Regions from separate parts of the Homo sapiens genome. Here region 2 is linked to region 1. The links are contacts of gene promoters, found by promoter capture Hi-C in human tissues and cell types (Jung and others, 2019). All regions are on one chromosome and are shown on one strand. The core of a region is centred on a gene start or on the middle of the fragment in contact, and the rest is flanking DNA. Distances in the headings are between cores, read along the strand shown.

The links. Contacts are between HindIII fragments. The study calls those that stand out against the background at their distance.
Region 2: a contact is called between a fragment that was not itself captured here and the fragment with the promoter of CCL13 in region 1, in 2 of the 25 tissues and cell types used here (mesenchymal stem cells and spleen).

What each region holds. Positions count from the first base shown.
Region 1 is chr17:34,355,049-34,359,371 of GRCh38, forward strand. CCL13 (C-C motif chemokine ligand 13) reads left to right here and starts at 1,432. Exons shown (of 3, transcript NM_005408.3): 1 at 1,432-1,554; 2 at 2,427-2,541; 3 at 2,978-3,562. The coding sequence starts at 1,479. The coding sequence ends at 3,083. The HindIII fragment of the contact is 2,821 bases long and covers 505-3,325 here.
Region 2 is chr17:34,143,251-34,147,615 of GRCh38, forward strand. It overlaps a transcript of ASIC2 not described here. Among named protein-coding and RNA genes, the nearest start is that of LINC01989, 38 kb to the right of the region's middle. The HindIII fragment of the contact is 5,486 bases long and covers 61-4,365 here.

The DNA.
Region 1 (4,323 bases), core at 182-2,681:
TATGTACCTTTTTCCTTTTTTCTTTTCTTTTTTTTTTTTTCTGGGACAGAGTCCTACTCTGTCACTCAGACTGGGGTGCAGTGGTGCAATCTTGGCTCACTGTAACCTCGGCCTCCCAGGTTCAAGCAATTCTCCTGCCTCAGCCTCCCAAGTAGCTGGGATTACAGGCATGTGCCACCATGCCTGGGTAATTTTTGTATTTTTTTTAGTAAAGACAGGGTTTTACCATGTTGTCCAGGCTGCTCTAGAACTCTTGACCTCAAGTGATCCCCCCGCCTCAGCCCCTTTTTTCTTTTTTTTTTCATTTTCAGTTCAGGAGAGTTTTAGCTTAATTATAGGCTACAGAACCAGCTTTGGGCTTCATCTATCCTTTCTAATATTTACTGTTTCCTATTTCTCTAATCCTAGCTCTTTATTTCTTCCCTTTACTTTCACTGGGCTTATTTTGCTATAGTGGAATGCAGAGGGATGAGTATTCCAGGAAGGCACAAAAACTGTGCCAAGTCTTGGAGCTAGGGATGAGTGGGAAAGGGACATGTTCAACCATTTTAAGCCATTCCCTCCCCACCTCCCAGCTCCCAGATATGTGCCCCTCGCAGGAGGAGCCCAGGAATGGGCCAAACACCTCACTTCTTTGCTCTGAGGGCCACCCCAGCCCTCCCATCAACAGCTCTAGAAACCCAATGGTCCTTCCTGGAAACACGGGGCCTGCATCAATCAGAGGTGTTTGAACCATGTCCCTCTGGGCCTGAGGGGCAGAAGGGGACACAATATGTAATGTAAGGAGCCCCTGTCATCAGAAATCTGACTTAATCTGTTTCAGATATTAGACTTCCACATAAAAGTTGACTTGGAAAAAGACTTCTGCTGCTAAACAAAAGTTGAAACTGCCTTGGTGATAAAATATAAGCAGACCAGCTTTCTCTTCTAGCTTTCCCTCTCATTTCCCATAAGATTTTGGTCAAGTTATTTAATCTCTCTGCATCCGTTTCCTCTTCTATGAAATGGGCATGATAATAATGGTATGTACCTCCTCAAACTAAATATATAACGTGAACAGAGTCCTTAGCACAGCACTCTTTCTCTACAGGAGTTAATTTTCATTGTTTTTCTCTTTCCTGTTGGAGAAAGTAAGAAGAAAACAGCTCCTTTATGGCTTCCCATGGTGAATGGCTGGGGCGCGTCTGTGTCCCTTTCTCCTCTCTGGCTCCTTGTGGCCTGAACAGCCAGAAGGAAGCCATGCCATGCTGTTTCAGCCCTCAGCTTCCCTCTTGCATTTCCTAGAAAAGTCTTTGGTGCCCAGCTCCAGCTCAGCAGATTCAGGATCCCCCTTCATCATGACTTGGTCAACGCCCTGCTCAGGCCAAGGTCCTCTGAGAGTTCCAAGCTTCTCCACTCCCTATAAAAGGCCGGCGGAACAGCCAGAGGAGCAGAGAGGCAAAGAAACATTGTGAAATCTCCAACTCTTAACCTTCAACATGAAAGTCTCTGCAGTGCTTCTGTGCCTGCTGCTCATGACAGCAGCTTTCAACCCCCAGGGACTTGCTCAGCCAGGTAAGTCACCTCCCTTCGACTCTCCCTCTCTTTCCCTCTGTTTCTCTATTCAAGGAAGACCTAAGCCCGAGTGCTCCTCCACTTTTTTTTTAGATTGAGTCTCATTATGTTGCCCAGGCTGAAGTGCAGGGGTGCGATCTTGGCTCATTGCAACCTTCACCTCCCAGGTTCAAGCGATTCTCTTGCCTCAGCCTTCTGAGTAGCTGTGATTACAGGCACCCGCCATCACGTGCAGCTAATTTTTGTATTTTTAGTAGAGAAGGGGTTTCACTATGTTGGCCAGGCTGGTCTCAAACTCTTGACCTCAAGTGATCCTCCCGTCTCGGCCTCCCAAAGTGCTGGGATTACAGGCGTGAGCCACCAGGCCCAGCCAAGTGCCCCACTTCTAAGCCCACCAGAATAGTAAGGCTCCTCAGAGGTTCACTTTAACATCTAATTTTAAAGATAGAAAGCTGAAGCCCATGTTGGAGGCAGAAGGGACCCTAGCCATCCACCTCCAGGTTATTGCAGAGCAAGAATGAAACCTAAGCTTCTGACTCCAGATTTAGGGCCTTTTCTTTGACCTCATCTGATCGTCCCAAACTCTGCAGATCTGGGACCACACCCAGGACCTTTCCCACTGGCCTTGCCCGTGGCCTCCCCTAGATGGCTGTGACATGTCTCCACCATGCAGCTGAGCCTTTGAGATCCTGAGGCACATGTCACAGGTCCCACCTCACCTCAGGGTCTAGGGTGGGAGTGCTGGGCTTGGGGGTGAGTAAGATCTATTTCTTCCTCTTTGCTTTGCATCCCATACAGATGCTCCCTGCTGTATTCAAGCTGAGAAAAGCCTAACACATCCTCAAAGTCTTTTTCTTTGTAACTATTTCTAGATGCACTCAACGTCCCATCTACTTGCTGCTTCACATTTAGCAGTAAGAAGATCTCCTTGCAGAGGCTGAAGAGCTATGTGATCACCACCAGCAGGTGTCCCCAGAAGGCTGTCATGTGGGTAGAAAAATCCCTGCTCACCTGGCTCCTCCCCACTCCCACATTCCCCAATCCAAAGTTCTGCCCCAGGAGACAGACGTCAGACTGACTTGAGATCTTAGGATGAGATCTAGCCAGACTGTGTGATGCAAATCCTCCAATTTTGGCTGCACAACAGGTCCAAAGAGGACCTATAATTTCCCACACCTTGTTTCCTGGATGGGCACCAGCCCACACCCTTTAGCAGATGCCAGGATCAGTTTCCCAGGGGCAGCAAGAGCAGTGGCTGCCTCCAGAGACCCCTTCTGTCCACACACCTCCTACTTCCTGTCCTGGAGGGGTGCCCCTTCACCTGTAGTAGGTGGACCAGGCAGGTTTAGAACCCAGTGTGTCATCTCCTGGGTAAACCCTCAAAGGGTTCCATCTAACTGTGCCAGATCTCCTTCCTCCACAGCTTCAGAACCAAACTGGGCAAGGAGATCTGTGCTGACCCAAAGGAGAAGTGGGTCCAGAATTATATGAAACACCTGGGCCGGAAAGCTCACACCCTGAAGACTTGAACTCTGCTACCCCTACTGAAATCAAGCTGGAGTACGTGAAATGACTTTTCCATTCTCCTCTGGCCTCCTCTTCTATGCTTTGGAATACTTCTACCATAATTTTCAAATAGGATGCATTCGGTTTTGTGATTCAAAATGTACTATGTGTTAAGTAATATTGGCTATTATTTGACTTGTTGCTGGTTTGGAGTTTATTTGAGTATTGCTGATCTTTTCTAAAGCAAGGCCTTGAGCAAGTAGGTTGCTGTCTCTAAGCCCCCTTCCCTTCCACTATGAGCTGCTGGCAGTGGGTTTGTATTCGGTTCCCAGGGGTTGAGAGCATGCCTGTGGGAGTCATGGACATGAAGGGATGCTGCAATGTAGGAAGGAGAGCTCTTTGTGAATGTGAGGTGTTGCTAAATATGTTATTGTGGAAAGATGAATGCAATAGTAGGACTGCTGACATTTTGCAGAAAATACATTTTATTTAAAATCTCCTACACAGTGGTGTTTTCTTCAGGAGTAACTGCCAACCAGTAGGGGCTCTCAGAGGTGTGGGTGGATGGCATGCCAGTGGAAGGCAGATGTACAGAGGCCCTGGCCATGGGGCTAGCCTGGCTCATCTGAGTTTCAAGGAGGGCCTGCCTCACCAGCCCAGGCTGTTCTGGAACAATGGCTCCAGTCCCCAGCATGGGCGCTCCTGGCTCGCAACTCATCCGTTTCATATTCAGTTCATTTCTTTCTTTAAAACCACACTCCTGCCAAAAGTAAACCCATCCCTCCCCCTCTAGTCTCCCACCCCAATCTATGCCTCCCCACTCCAAGCAGCAAGTGATTCAGACTTCATGTGCACCTGACACTCAGAGGGAAACCAGATGACCAAGTCCTAGTGAGCCTCAGGATTGGTAGGGAAGAGGGTGCTTGGGCCTAATGGACTTTAGAGGATGGGGAAGTATGGTCATAGCAAAGATTCTTTTAGGGGAGGTCCAAGATAGCAATGTGGGGAGAGGGCCTGGGGGGAATATCCCCAAACGGTCCGATATGGGCTTCCAGAATGTAAAAGTTGGAGACATGTAGAAATGAAAGTTGAGGGCAGGTTCTAGAGGAATTAGAATATCAGGGTGGGGAGTTTAGACTCAGTTCTGAAGGCAGGAGGAAGGTGCAAAGGTTTTTGAGTCATCCAGAGGGAAGAATGGATGCCAGGAAGACTAGCTATTGGCTGTGGATAAGATGGAGTTGAGAAGGGAGGGCGGAAAACAGC
Region 2 (4,365 bases), core at 1,554-4,053, 210 kb before region 1:
AGTCACTAAGCTTCTCTGAGCCTAACCTATGTTCAACTGTGAAATAGACATATTGGTACATGCTATGGTTTGAATATATATAGTATGTCCCCATAAAAACTCATGTTGAAGCTTGGTCCCAAATGTGATGGTGTTGGGAGGTGGTCCCTTTAAGGGGTGATTACATCATTAAGATGAATTAATGTCTTTCTTGCTAGACTGGGTTACTTCTTGTAGGAATGAATTAGTTCCCATGAGAGCAGATTCTTATAAAGCAAGGTTGCCTATTGTGTTTTGCCTTTTTTGCATGCATCTGGTTCCCCTCCCATTTCTCTGCCATGTTTTGATGCAGCACAAGGCTCTCAGCAGACCTTTTCTTTTGATGAATATTCAGGTGGTTTCTGGGCTGATGTCATGCATCTTTGGAGATGCTGGTTTCAATGGGAGTACAGCCAGAACACTGGGCGTCAAACTTGTGAATGAAACTTTGCCTTTTCAGGGAAAGATGGGCTTAGGATCTTATAGTCATGATGTTTGCATATCACAAGCACCATGTCTCTGGGATCTGGGCATATGTCTGTAGTAGGCCTGACTTTCCAGAAGCTTCCAGATGTGGCTGCTCAGTGTTGAGTTTCACATCCTGCAGAACCATAAGTTAACTAAACCTCTTTTTTTTTCTTTTTATAAATTACCCAGTCTCGGGTATTCTGTTATAGCAACACAAAACAGACTAAGACTAAGACAATACATTTTCCACTTTCAGAGTTATTGTGAGGATCAAATAGCATCTTAGAAAGCATTTAGGATATAAAATCAGATACCTCATTCATATCCTGCTTCCACCAATTACAAGATAAGTGACTGTAGGCCAATTCTTCCACTTTTCTAAACCTCAGTTTTTTCCATACAAAAAAAAGATATGTCAACTATTATATATTTCACTTGGCTGTTGTGAAGACCAAATGAAGTATTCCATGTAAAGTGCATAGAACAGTGCCTGGGATACAGTATGTGCTCAGAAAATGTTAGCCATTATTAACAGGTTTTGTAAGCTACACAATGATGAACAAATAAAAGAACTTTTATTTGTGACAAGACCTGCATGTCTATAGTAGCTTAGGCTCAACTATAATAGCAGGAGCTGGGTCCCTGGCTTGATCACAGCCTCATTCCCCATACTTTCTGGGGACTTCCTGATACTACACTGTCAATATAGATTTCCAAAAAATCGTCTTGCTCCTGGATCTCCTGTCACTATGTTGTATCACCAGCTCATCTTAGTAATAATAATAGTAACAACAGTAACAAAACAGCTGACATTCCACATCTGGGATAACTTTTAAAGTTTTACTTATATTATTTCACTCAATTGCTGCAAACAATCCTATGGGGTACCAGTATTATTATTATTATTTAATAGATGAGGATATTGAAGTCTGGAGGTGTTAAGTAATTTGTACAAGGTCAGGGAAACCTGGAACCTACACCTGTCTGGCACTAAATTCCATGATTGTACCACGAGGCCAAAATACCTCATTATGTTATTATCTCAAGTGCCAGAGCTCTTCATTCTTCCAACATTTGCCAAGCTCCCCAAGCTCAGATATCCCTTTGTTGTCTGTTATCAGTGCTCCTGGGCAGGACATTCTCTCTGCCAGATTAGCCTCCTTCCAAACTCCTATAGCTGGGTCTATCTCTAGCCATACTAAACCTAGAGTTATCTCTAGTCCATAAACCTCTCAGTCTCTGCAGCCCTCCACATGGAACCCGGCCATGCCCAACCACAACCCAAGATTTGCTCTCTAGGGTTGGCTCTAGCTCCCAGAATTTATGACAAATTCCTCTGGGAACTGCCTCTTGAGGAGCCATCCATACACACTTTAGGATGCCCAGGTCATTTAACAGCCCCTTCAATCCTTGGCTTCCACCAGCCACCCACTTCCCACACTTTCTCTGGATGAACTGAAATATCCACTCTTTTGTGTCTACAGTCTCATATGGCACCATTCTTATTCCTGACTTCTGAGACACTTAGCTTCAAGACTACACAGTATTGGGAAATGGGGTGATTCTGCAGTCTGGATGTGCTGGATTGCATCTATTATCAGTTTTTTTTCCAGTGCTATCTGCCAATGTCCCTCACCTCTGACCCCAACTATCTGTGCAGGAAGGAAATAAAGACTCTCAGAGTTGGAAGTAACTTTAGAGGTCATTAAATCCAACCCTTTACCTGACATTGATCCACATCTGCAGCATTGCCAATAAGCAATTGTCTGGCCTCAGCTAGAGCTGATGGCAGGGTACAGGGTGCTCTAGACTCCTAGGACAACTCCTTCTAGTCTGCCGATATCCACTTATCTAAACTTTTACCCACACATTGGTGCTAGCTCTGCTCCCTGGCTTCACACAGAGAAAGTCACATTCCTCTTCTCTATGATTGCCTTCGAAGTGTTTTAAAACAGCTCTCATATTGCCCGTGAGCCACCCACTTCGCTTTTCATGCTAAGCTGTCTGAGTTCTTTCATACGCTCCTCATCGCTCGTGGTTTCTGTGACATATGAGGAGCATCACCTCTGGTCAGCCATACATCTCTCACTGCCTTCTACTTTATTGATGGGCCCAGGACACTGCCAACATCAAATGCATAGCCTCCTCTTCATGGCTTGAAGCCAGGCTGATGCACATTCAGGAAGAAATGGAAGTGAAGGCTGGTAGAAGGGTAGGAAAGGGAAGTTTTCAGAGAGAGCAAACTTAGGAAATGAGAATGCAGGTGCTGATAAAAGTGTATGCTAGAATGTGAGCAGCTGAGAGTCACGTAACAGCTGGGAGAATGGGTATGGCTCAGCTCTTCGGAGAAGGGAAACCTTGGGAAGGGCTTTCTTTGGGCAAACAACTCTAAGGGGAACAAACCAGCTGTGCTTAGAGTAGTGAATCCCAATCAGAGAGATGCTCATTTGAGTTATGAGGGCCACCCTTGGGAATTGTTATCGCCGTCTTGAGTTGAAAACACAGATTTTGAAAGTCCCAGGTTTAAAAGATTTTTGAAAAAGGTATTTTTTTCTTTCTAAACCAGACTTAGGTCCACATGCCTAGACTATTGTCCATGTTACCATATGGATAAAAAAGCTAAAACTAATCAATACACAGGTTGGGTTCCCTATCAGAGCCTGAGATGGCACACCTTCTACAGGTGATTTATTGAGGGAGTGTTCTCATAAAAAGCCTAGAAGCGGGAAGGGGAAGGTAGGGCGGGGGAAAAGGTAAGCATGAATGTGGTTTCAGGAGAAGTCCAGCTCAGCCTGATCCCACGGGAAACACTGAGTGTAAACTGCACCACAATGTATTCCATCTTGAGGTGAGATGACTGGCATTTCCTAATCCTGTCAGTCAGTCACTGGCCACTGGCTGCCCCCAGGTGGTGGGGAGGTGAATAACTTCCCAGGTATCTCCAGAAGAGGCAGCACCTGTCAACCAAGGGCCAGCCTCCCCACGAAGGGGACTGATTAAGCTGTTATGTGCTCTACCTACAGGTGCAGTAAAGAGGATCTGGGCTGACCAACAGTGTCTTCCACAGATACACTTGCTAATTCACGCATGGAAGACCCAGAGTGTATCACTCCCCTCAACTGCTGGACTACTGTGCTGCAAACTTTGAGTCAGAATGATGAGCTTCAGTCAGGCATATCATGGCTCCTGAACAGGATTTTGAGAGCAAGATTCTGTGCCTCCCTCATCCTGCTGCAGCCTCTCAGTGCATCTAGGTGTTTCTGCTTCCATTGTACATATCTATCAAAATAAAATTGTTATAATTAAACAAACAAATAAATAGATAAATAGATCTGGTGGCAAATGAGCAGCAACTCCTCCCCACTCCCAACATAAGTTAAAGTTTGAGTTTCAGCAACAGATGTAGGATCAGAAAACAAATGTTTAATATGTTCTGTTGCATTAGAGCGGTACAGGTTGGCAAGTCCTTAGAAACCACCTAATTCCACCCCTTCATTTTACAGATAAGCAAACTGAGGCCCATTGAGGCTTATTACCTTCCCAAAGGTTGTGCAACTAAATCTACAGAGGTCATAAATCCAGGCAAATACGTTGCTTCTGTTTTATATGCTTAATTTCTTCTGAGCATAAATTTCAATGGCTACTGAGGCAATCAATAGAGAATATATCGAAATCAGAAGAAAATAAGTACTGGGAGATGGAAAGATGCTTCAGCATCCAAAGAATGGCACTTTGGGGAATGCTGTCCTCAAATAAAGCCCAACCTGATAAACAGGCTTTTATCAGAGAATTTCAATTTATCAAATAATAACCATGTAGTATTTCTGAGCATTGGAGACAGCTGCTATCCAGCAACCCCTAAGCCCAGTCTGTATGGTT